Regions from separate parts of the Homo sapiens genome. Here all the other regions are linked to region 3. The links are contacts of gene promoters, found by promoter capture Hi-C in blood cells and fetal thymus (Javierre and others, 2016). All regions are on one chromosome and are shown on one strand. Each heading gives the region's core, a stretch centred on a gene start or on the middle of the fragment in contact. The rest is flanking DNA. Distances are from core to core; before and after follow the strand shown. Region 1 overlaps NEMP1 (nuclear envelope integral membrane protein 1). Region 2 holds the start of PTGES3 (prostaglandin E synthase 3). Region 3 holds the start of RPL41 (ribosomal protein L41).

Evidence for each region. Contacts are between HindIII fragments. The CHiCAGO score rates a contact against its expected background, and 5 or more counts as called.
Region 1: a fragment that was not itself captured here is called in contact with the fragment with the promoter of RPL41 in region 3 in 1 of 17 cell types (neutrophils); the score reaches 5.6 in neutrophils.
Region 2: the fragment with the promoter of PTGES3 here is called in contact with the fragment with the promoter of RPL41 in region 3 in 1 of 17 cell types (erythroblasts); the score reaches 5.3 in erythroblasts.

The regions. Positions count from the first base shown.
Region 1 is chr12:57,073,722-57,076,922 of GRCh38, forward strand. All of the region lies in intron 1 of NEMP1 (nuclear envelope integral membrane protein 1), which reads right to left. Among named protein-coding and RNA genes, the nearest start is that of NEMP1, 3.5 kb to the right of the region's middle. The HindIII fragment of the contact is 8,733 bases long and covers 1-3,201 here.
Region 2 is chr12:56,686,759-56,689,791 of GRCh38, forward strand. PTGES3 (prostaglandin E synthase 3) reads right to left here and starts at 1,526. Exons shown (of 8, transcript NM_006601.7): 1 at 1,240-1,526. The coding sequence starts at 1,241. RefSeq lists enhancers at 633-682, 793-912, 1,411-1,936, 2,413-2,462, 2,989-3,033 and a silencer at 1,573-1,762. The HindIII fragment of the contact is 8,036 bases long and covers 3-3,033 here.
Region 3 is chr12:56,115,047-56,118,024 of GRCh38, forward strand. RPL41 (ribosomal protein L41) reads left to right here and starts at 1,587. Exons shown (of 3, transcript NM_001035267.2): 1 at 1,587-1,753; 2 at 2,143-2,165; 3 at 2,436-2,921. The coding sequence starts at 1,742. The coding sequence ends at 2,478. RefSeq lists an enhancer at 1,179-1,228 and a silencer at 2,895-2,944. The HindIII fragment of the contact is 11,197 bases long and covers 1-1,773 here.

The DNA of each region.
Region 1 (3,201 bases), core at 413-2,912, 960 kb after region 3:
TAAGCACTCTCATAATCCCTATTTTATAAATGAGGAACTGATGTTTAAGAAAGATTAAGTAATTTGCTCCAAAATCACACAAATAGTAAATAGCCTATCTGAGATTCACCCCCAGGTCTGACTATGGTCTTAAACACTAGATATACTTCCTGTCCTATAAAGGAATAAAGTAAGCTAAACTACTCCATCTGTTGATTTTCTCTATCCCTTTCCTGAGTAGAACAGAATTGGCAGGTTTTTTATTTTATTTTTTTATTTTTTTTTTGAGACAGGGTCTGGCTCTGCTGCTCAGGCTGGAGTACAGTAATGTGATCATAGCTCATTGCAGCCTCAAACTCTTGGGCTCAAACAATCCTCCCACTTCAGCCTCCCAAGTAGCCAGGACTACAGGTATACACCACCACACCCAGCTAGTTTTTTTTTTTTTTAAAGAGACAAGGTCTTACTATGTTGCCCAGGCTGGTCTTGAACTCCTGGCCTAAAGCAATCCTCCCACATTGGCCTCCCAAAGCACCCACGCTGACCTCCCAAAGCACTGGGATTACAGATCTGCCACCATGCCCAGCCAGCATTTTTTTTTTTTTTTTTCAGACAGGGTCTCACTCTGTCACCCAGGCTGGAATACAGTGGTGCGATCTTGGCTCACTGCAACCTCTGCCTCCCAGGTTCCAGCGATTCTCCCACCTCAGCCTCCTGAGTAGCTGGCATTACAGGCATGAGCCAACTCAATTGGCTAACTTTTTTTGTGTGTGTGTATTTTTGTAGTAGAGATGGGGTTTCACCATGTTGGCCAGACTGATCTAGAACTCCTGGCCTCAACTGATCCACCCACCTCAGCCTCCCAAAGTGCTGGGATTACAGGCGTAAGCCACCACGCCCAGCCAGCAATATTTTTAATATATAGTACTTTTGGAGGATACTAAAAGATTTCAAGGTTGTTTCCTTCCAGCTGTTTTGTGTCACTTCAAATTTTAACAGCAGGCAATGATTACATGCAGTCCCTCTGATTTACCAAAACAGAAGATTCTCCTCTCAATTTGTATTTAATATCAGCTAATTCAAGATTTAAAAGTGACCACTGTCCAGCCGGGCATGGTGGCTCACACCTGAAATCCCAGCACTTGGGGAGGCCAAGGCAGACGGATCACTTGAGGTCAGGAGTTCAAAACCAGCCTGGCCAACATGGTGAAACCCCGTCTCTACTACAAATACAAAAAAATCAGCTGGGCATGGTGGCGGGCACCTGTAATCGCAGCTTCTTGGGAGGCTGAGGCAGAAGAATCGCTTGAACCTGGGAGGGGAGACTGCAGTGAGCCGAGATCGCGCCTCTGCACTCCAGCCTGGGTGACAGAGCAAGACTACGTCTCAAAAAAATAAATAAGGGGCTGGGCGCCGTGGCTCACACCTGTAATCCCACCACTTTGGGAGGCCGAGGCAGGTGGATCACCAGGTCAGCAGATTGAAACCATCCTGGCTAACAAGGTGAAACCCCATCTCTACTAAAAGCACAAAAAAAATTAGCTGGGTACGGTGGCGGGCGCCTGTAGTCCCAGCTACTTGGGAGGCTGAGGCAGGAGAATGGCATGAACCCGGGAAGTGGAGCTTGCAGTGAGCCAAGATCACACCACTGCACTCCAGCCTGGGCGACAGAGCAAGACTCCATTTCAATATAAATAAATAAATAAATAAATAAATAAATAAATAAATAAATAGTTGGGAGCCAAGATCACACCACTGCACTCCGGCCTGGGCGACAGAGCAAGACTCCATCTCAATATCAATAAATAAATAAATAAATAAATAAATAAATAAATAGTTGGGCCCAGGCGTGGTGGCTCACGCCTGTAGTCCCAGGACTTTGGGAAGCCAAGGTGAGGGGATTGCCTGACCTCAGGAGTTTGAGACCAGCCTGGCCAACATGATGAAACCCCATCTCTACAAAAAAAAAAAGAAAAAAAAATAAGGCCAGGCACGGTGGCTCACACCTGTAATCCCAGCACTTTGGGAGGCTGAGGCGGGCAGATCATTTGAGGTCAGGAGTTTGAGACCAGCCTGGCCAACATGGCGAAATCCCACTCTACTAAAAATACAAAAAAATTACCCGGGCATGGTGGCACACACCTGTAATCCCAGCACTTTGGGAGGCTGAGGCGGGCAGATCACTTGAGGTCAGGAGTTTGAGACCAGCCTGGCCAACATGGCGAAATCCCACTCTACTAAAAATACAAAAAAATTACCCGGGCATGGTGGCACACACCTGTAATCCCAGCTACTCGGGAGGGTGAGGTAGGAGAATCGCTTGAACCTAGGTGGCCGAGATGGCACCACTGCACTCCAGCCTGGGCAACAGAGCAAGACTCCATCTCAAAAAAATAAATAAATAAATAAATAAAAATGTATACACAAAGATGTTCACAAACTTACAACAATGAAAAACTAGAAATACCACAAATATCCAACCAACAGTACAAACCACCAATATCCAACCAAATGTTTAATCCACAACATTAATAATGATTTTTACCAGGCAGATGGCACGTGCCTGTAGTCCCAGCTACTTGGGGAGACCGAGGTGGGAAGTTACAGTGAGCTATGATTGTGCACTGCACTCTAGCCTGGGTGTCACAGCAAAACCACGTCACTAAAAAATAATAAATGAAGGCCAGGCATGGTGGCTCACGCCTGTAATCCCAGTACTTTGGTAGGCTGAGGCGGGCGGAACACCTGAGGTCAGGAGTTCGAGACCAACCTAGCCAACATGGTGAAACCCCATCTCTACTAAAAATACAAAATTAGCTGAGTGTGGCTGGGCGTGGTGGCTCACGCCTGTAATCCCAGCACTTTGGGAGGCTGAGGTGGGCAGATCACGAGGTCAGGAGTTTGAGACCAGCCTGGCCAGCCTGGTGAAACCCCGTCTGTACAAAAAATACAAAAAGTTAGCCAGGCATGGTGGCATGCGCCTATAATCCCAGCTACTCGGGAGGCAGAGGGAGAAGTGCTTGAACTCTGGAGGCTGAGGTTGCAGTGAGCCTAGATAGTGCCATTGCACTCCAGCCTAGGCAACGAGGGCGAAACTCTGTCTCAAAAAAAAAAAAATTAGCCGAGTGTGGTGGCACATGCCTGTAGTCCCAGCTACTTGGGAGGCTGAGATGGGAGAATGGCTTGAAACAGGAACCGAGATTGCACCACTGCACTCCAGCC
Region 2 (3,033 bases), core at 276-2,775, 570 kb after region 3:
GAAGCTTGTTCCCAGTGATAAACTCGCTTCAGCCTCACGCATCCCTTTAGATTTCTAGCCAATATACTCAGCCTCAGTATCATGACTTGAATCAAGCAAATCCTTATTACTTTTCCAAAGACATAAAGTCACTCCCCTCTTCTCTCTTCTGAATGGAGTCTAAAACAAAAGAAAAAAAAGGTTCCACCTTAATTGTTCTCCATACCTTTTAGGACGTAGTTAGTACCTTGAAAAATAACCTCCCGTCAAAAAAAAAAAAAAAAAAAAAAAAACCCTGTAAAACCGGCAGTTCCCACTGTACGCGGCAGTGCCAAGAATTCTTACCGGTTAAAATCGCCAAGGCTTTCCTTTATCATCGTAAAATGAAGACTGCCATAGAATCTGTATTCACCTCCACACAAATTTAAGATCTTTGGGACGACTGTAGGTTAATTAAATGCCTACTACATACCTATTTCATCCTACACTGTAACAAGATAGTGAAACCTCACCTCAAGTAGAACATGAAACACAGAAAATGTCCGTATCTTTCCAAAGTCGACACGTGCGGAACTACCTGCTCAATGGTAACTCCTCCTCGCTGCCAGGGAAGCGGCTGAGTTTTGGCAACCTCCCGTGTTTTCAAGAGACTGGAGTTAGGAGGCGGACTGGAAGTACCCACACTCAAGAAACCCAGACACTGGAGAGGGAAGTATGTTGCGGCGTGGGCATGGCTTCCTTCTAGTTGCCTAGCAGTACCTGCAGCTCACGGCGAGGTCCGCGTGGGGCTCTCCCAGGAGCTCCGCCAGGCACCTGGCGGCACCCACCACAGGTGCACTCGACTCAGGGCCTGGCCCCGGGACCACAAAGCAACAGAACCGGAGCGCCCAAGCAGCCGAGAGGCGACCCACGAAGGTTCACGCTTCAGGGCGCCGCATGGCGAGCAGCTACCGGGAGCTTAAGGCCTAGGGTGAAGTTACCGAAAGAGGCGAGTAACCCAGACAGCCAAAGGGGTAAAAGTAGGATTTCCGGCATGGGGAAGCCAAGGAACGGTTCAGGGGTGGGGGAAGCAGACATCTGGAGGAAAAATGTCCTCCACCCGCCAACGGTAACCGGAACAAGGATCCTGGACCTCCCGCCCCCAGGCAGGAACGACTGCCACCACCGATGCGAGAAAGGCTAGGGGGCCGCTTCCAGGGAGCCCCCAACGCGGCCTCGGCCTCACTCGGCGACCTTCCCTCGGCGGGGTGTCGCACTCACATTGTGAACGGGGCAGGGGGACGGGCGAACTGGTGGGCGGGCCTCTCTGGCGGCGGCTGCTGCTAGGGAGTCGACTTCTCTCCGGTGGCGACTCCGCTTTTTCTCTCCGGTCGCGGCCTCTTCTCGCTTCCCTCAGGCGACGGCGGCAGCGGCGGGCTCGACCTCGGGCCCCAGAATGCACCGCGCGGAAAGAGCGGCTCCTCCGGTCGGGGAGAAGAGGAAAGTGTAGGAAAAGGGGCGCGAGGACGGAGAATGAACGTGCGTGCGTGCAAACGAGGGGTGGTGAGGCCGGGCGGCGGCTGGTGACGCAGCAAAATGCCCGGGCCTTGCCGCCGCGCGTGCGCAGTCCTTGTTTTTGGGCTCCGGCGCGGCTTTCTAGAGATATCTACGGAAAGGGCGGGGCCTCCCAGCTCCTTCGCGATCCTTCCTGGCGCCGGCCCCGCCCTTCGTCCGCCACCCCACCCCCACTCCGCCCCCTGCTAGTCCCTACGCGTTCCCGCCTCTCCTCCCGCTCTGTCTTCTCGCGTTAGAAAACCGTTAGTGGCCCAACTGCCCTGCCATGCGCCTTCGGCGATTTCTCTGAGAAACGGTTGCGTTGACAGTGGGAGGCAAGGCTGAGGCGGAGGGACACGGAGTCGGGATCCTGGAGAACTGAAATGGCGCGTTGGTTACTCTTGAGGGAGTAAATCAGCTCACTGAGTCATCATTCCACCACAAAAACCTGTAAAAAGCCTGTGCTGTGGAAAAGGGCTCACTTCAGAATCAAGGGCCTGGGTCCACCTCGCCATTTTTCTGAAGGTTGGAGGCTCTGTCCAGGGACAGCGGAAATTCGAGGTTCTTGGCGGAGGAGGAGCATTTGCCAATTGGGGCGGGCTTTTGCCCCTACCTTGAGACCTTAGTGCTGTAGATGAGCCAGGAAAGGTATTTGAGGGGAGAGTCTAGGTTTCTGGGAATGGAGAGAGTAGGACATTGTGTGTTTCCACGCACATCGTTTGGGGGAGAAGGGGTTCCCCGTCGCTTTGTGCAACATATTAGTAGGGTGTAGTAGGGGTAGCAACCAAGAGACCCAAAACAGTCCTGCTTAAGAAGAAGCCGCTTAACGGTGGATTGGGGAAAAATACTCTAGTGCGCTGCATTTTGAACAGGAAGGAGGTTTAACGAAAGTGCTATAAAACCTTTCTGAAGAACGGGGCTTCATAATAAGCACTAAGGTATTTAGTGTCTGTGTTGTGCAGGACAGGTAGTGGGAGCTACGAAACCTGGACCCTAGCTCAAATGCCATTAAAAAGGGAAATTGGGCGGGGCGCCCGTGGCTCACGCCTATAATCCCAGTACTTTGGGAAGTTCGGTGGGCGGATCACCTGAGGTCAGGAGTTCAGGACCAGCCCACCCAACATGGTGAAACCCCATCTCTACTAAAAATACTAATTAGCAGGGCGTGGTGGCACTTGCCTGTAATGCCAAATACTAGCTAGTATGAGGCGGGAGGATAGCTCGAACCCCGAACCCGGGAGGCGGAGGTTGCAGTGAGCACTCCAACTTGGGCGACAGAGTGAGACCCTGTGTCAAAAAAAAAAAAAAAAAGGGAAGGGGCCGGGCGCGGTGGCTCACGCCTGTAATCCCAGCACTTCGGGAGGCAGAGGCGGGCAGATCACGAGGTCAGGAGATTGAGCCCATCCTGGCTAACATGGTGAAACCCCGTCTCTACTAAAAATAAAAAAAAATCAGCCGGGTGTGGTGGCACACGCCTCTAGTCCCAGCTACTCGGGAGAGCGAGACAGGAGAATCGCTTGA
Region 3 (2,978 bases), core at 337-2,836:
ATAATTCTGCTAGGATTTTTTTTGTTTCAAAAAAATTGTCATATATATTTGGGTGGTGACAATACTACAACTACTTAGAAGGAACCTAATTTTAAAAACGTTTTTCAGGGATTGAAAGTGAAATGCTATCCTGGAATATAATAAAGGGAAACCACAAAAAAAGAGGGATTGTAACAATCACATACAAAATGTTACAGTATTTTAAAACTGTAAGATGAAGTCTCTATAGGGAAAGGGTTCTTTTTCATCCCCCATTAACTCAAAAGTTTCCTGTAGCCAAATCTTAGGGGATCTGGTTGTTTTCCAGTGCTTCTCACCTGAGCATACAATCAAACTGGGAAGTTCTTTATCTTAACACCAAATGTCATACTTTCCCTAGATTTAGGTAATTTTCTCCCTATGTCCGTTGGTTCGCTCTTCACCCCTAGAGAATCACTGCATAGGTCACTGCAGCCTCGACTTCCTGGGCTCGAGATTCCCCCACCTCAGCCTCCCAAAGCGCTGGGATTACAGGCATGAGCCACCGTGCCCAGCCCGCTGACGTATTTTCTGAACAAATGATGCATTGTAGCCAGGAATCTCTAGTGATATTTTGCTTCGGGCATCGTGGGGGAAGACCATAATCAGCTATTTTATTCTTGAAATTTAGGAAAAATAATTGCTCTATCTTAAACAGTGAGAAAATATTTTTTGAAGTATGGCAGCTTTCCCGAATCCCCACTTTATATCTTCCTATGTTCTGAAATCTTAGGACCTTCGATGGTTCCGGAATCGAATCACCCTGCAGCAATTTATTTTAGAAAATAAGGCAAACCGGCTGGGCGCGGTGGTTCATGCTTGTAATCCCAGCACTTTGAGAGGCCGAGGCGGGCGGATCGCTTGAGCTCAGGAGTTCGAGACCAGCCTGGGCAACACAGCGAAACCTCGTCTCTACTAAAAATACAAAAATTAGCCAAGTGGCGCGCGCCTGTTGTCCCAGCTGCTCGGGAAGCTGAGGCGGGAGAATCGCTTGTATTCAGGAGGCGGAAATTGCGGTGAGCCGAGATCGCGTCACTGCACTCCAGCCTGGGTGACACAGTGAGATCCTGTCTCAAAAAAGAAAAAAAGAAAGAAAGAAAGAAAAGAAAGAAAGAAAGAAAGAAAGAAAGAAAGAAAGAAAGAAAGAAAGAAAGAAAGAAAGAAAAGAAGGCAAACCAGTAAAACAAGAATTTCTGTACAGTCCGCGCCTATCCATAGCAAAATGGAGGACTTCTCCAGGGAACTGCAACTCCCAAGAAGCAATGCGAGGGAAGGTGGCGGTCACTATTTTTTCCCCGTCTGCACCTCTAGGTCCAATATTGGAAATAGGTGCTGACGTTTAAATAACACAGCGTCCTCATACTAAATCTGGGGGGGAACTGGTAACTCGAAAACCAAATACTCGGTCTTCCGAAAGAACTAACTCAACCTACCCTTCTACAAGAGGGTCCGAAAACCACTGTTACGCCCATTGGGTAGCCCCGCCCTTGGGGGGGGCAAAGGGCGTGAAAGCGGAAGTGACGACACCCGGCGCTCCATTAAATAGCCGTAGACGGAACTTCGCCTTTCTCTCGGCCTTAGCGCCATTTTTTTGGGTGAGTGTTTTTTGGTTCCTGCGTTGGGATTCCGTGTACAATCCATAGACATCTGACCTCGGCACTTAGCATCATCACAGCAAACTAACTGTAGCCTTTCTCTCTTTCCCTGTAGAAACCTCTGCGCCATGAGAGCCAAGGTGAGCGGTTCCTGGTAGTAAGCTTGGGAGGTAGGAGTTGGCGAGTAGTAGCGAGGAGACGAAGGCAAGTCCGCCATACCTCCTGAACTACTGGGTTTCAAGGGTGCCCAAGAGCTGGTGGGAGAGAGAAGGTAGTTTGTGAGAGAGCTAGCGGTTAAGTGCTATGGGTAGAGAGGGTGGGCTTAGAAAAGGGTGGAATTCTGATCTTATGTTGGGAGGGTGTCCAAGTTACTGATGTAGTTGTTACGACCAATCTTTCATACTTCTTGGTTAAGAATCTGTCCGGTTCTAAAGAGTGCATTTCATATCCTTGCTAAGCCTACTAATAAGCTTCATCCCTTTTTTTTTTTTTTTTTTTTAATTATCTGCTGCTTGTGATCGGTTGCTAGTGGAGGAAGAAGCGAATGCGCAGGTACGTTGAGACTTTGCCAGCCCAGGAGGAGGGAAGTTCCTTGGACAAAACTTAGGAGAAACATTTGGTTTGGAAATCTTAAAAGATCTTTAGGAGAAAAACGTTTGAGTGTTTTCTCCCTGGAGCCAGGATTTAACAGAACAGAGAACGATAGAACCGTAGTGCTTGTTCATTTTACCACCTCATTCTTTATGTGGACGTTTGATTTAATGTGGGAGGGAAAGGCAACTCTGGTTTGAGGTGTATTCCATTCCTGTGTCTGCTTTTCAGGCTGAAGCGCAAAAGAAGAAAGATGAGGCAGAGGTCCAAGTAAACCGCTAGCTTGTTGCACCGTGGAGGCCACAGGAGCAGAAACATGGAATGCCAGACGCTGGGGATGCTGGTACAAGTTGTGGGACTGCATGCTACTGTCTAGAGCTTGTCTCAATGGATCTAGAACTTCATCGCCCTCTGATCGCCGATCACCTCTGAGACCCACCTTGCTCATAAACAAAATGCCCATGTTGGTCCTCTGCCCTGGACCTGTGACATTCTGGACTATTTCTGTGTTTATTTGTGGCCGAGTGTAACAACCATATAATAAATCACCTCTTCCGCTGTTTTAGCTGAAGAATTAAATCATCTTGTCTATTATGTTTTTTATGGTTCCATCGGGTGGGGGTTTTCTGTCATTAGAGTTTGCCCTGTCACTACCTGTGCTATGGAGGGTATCAAAGCTATAAAGGCAACAGCCCGGGTTACGTGGTGTGGTTTGCATCTCGCTGGAGTTGGATGGGATATGGTACGTCTCTGGAGGCAGGTTTTAGGTTTCGC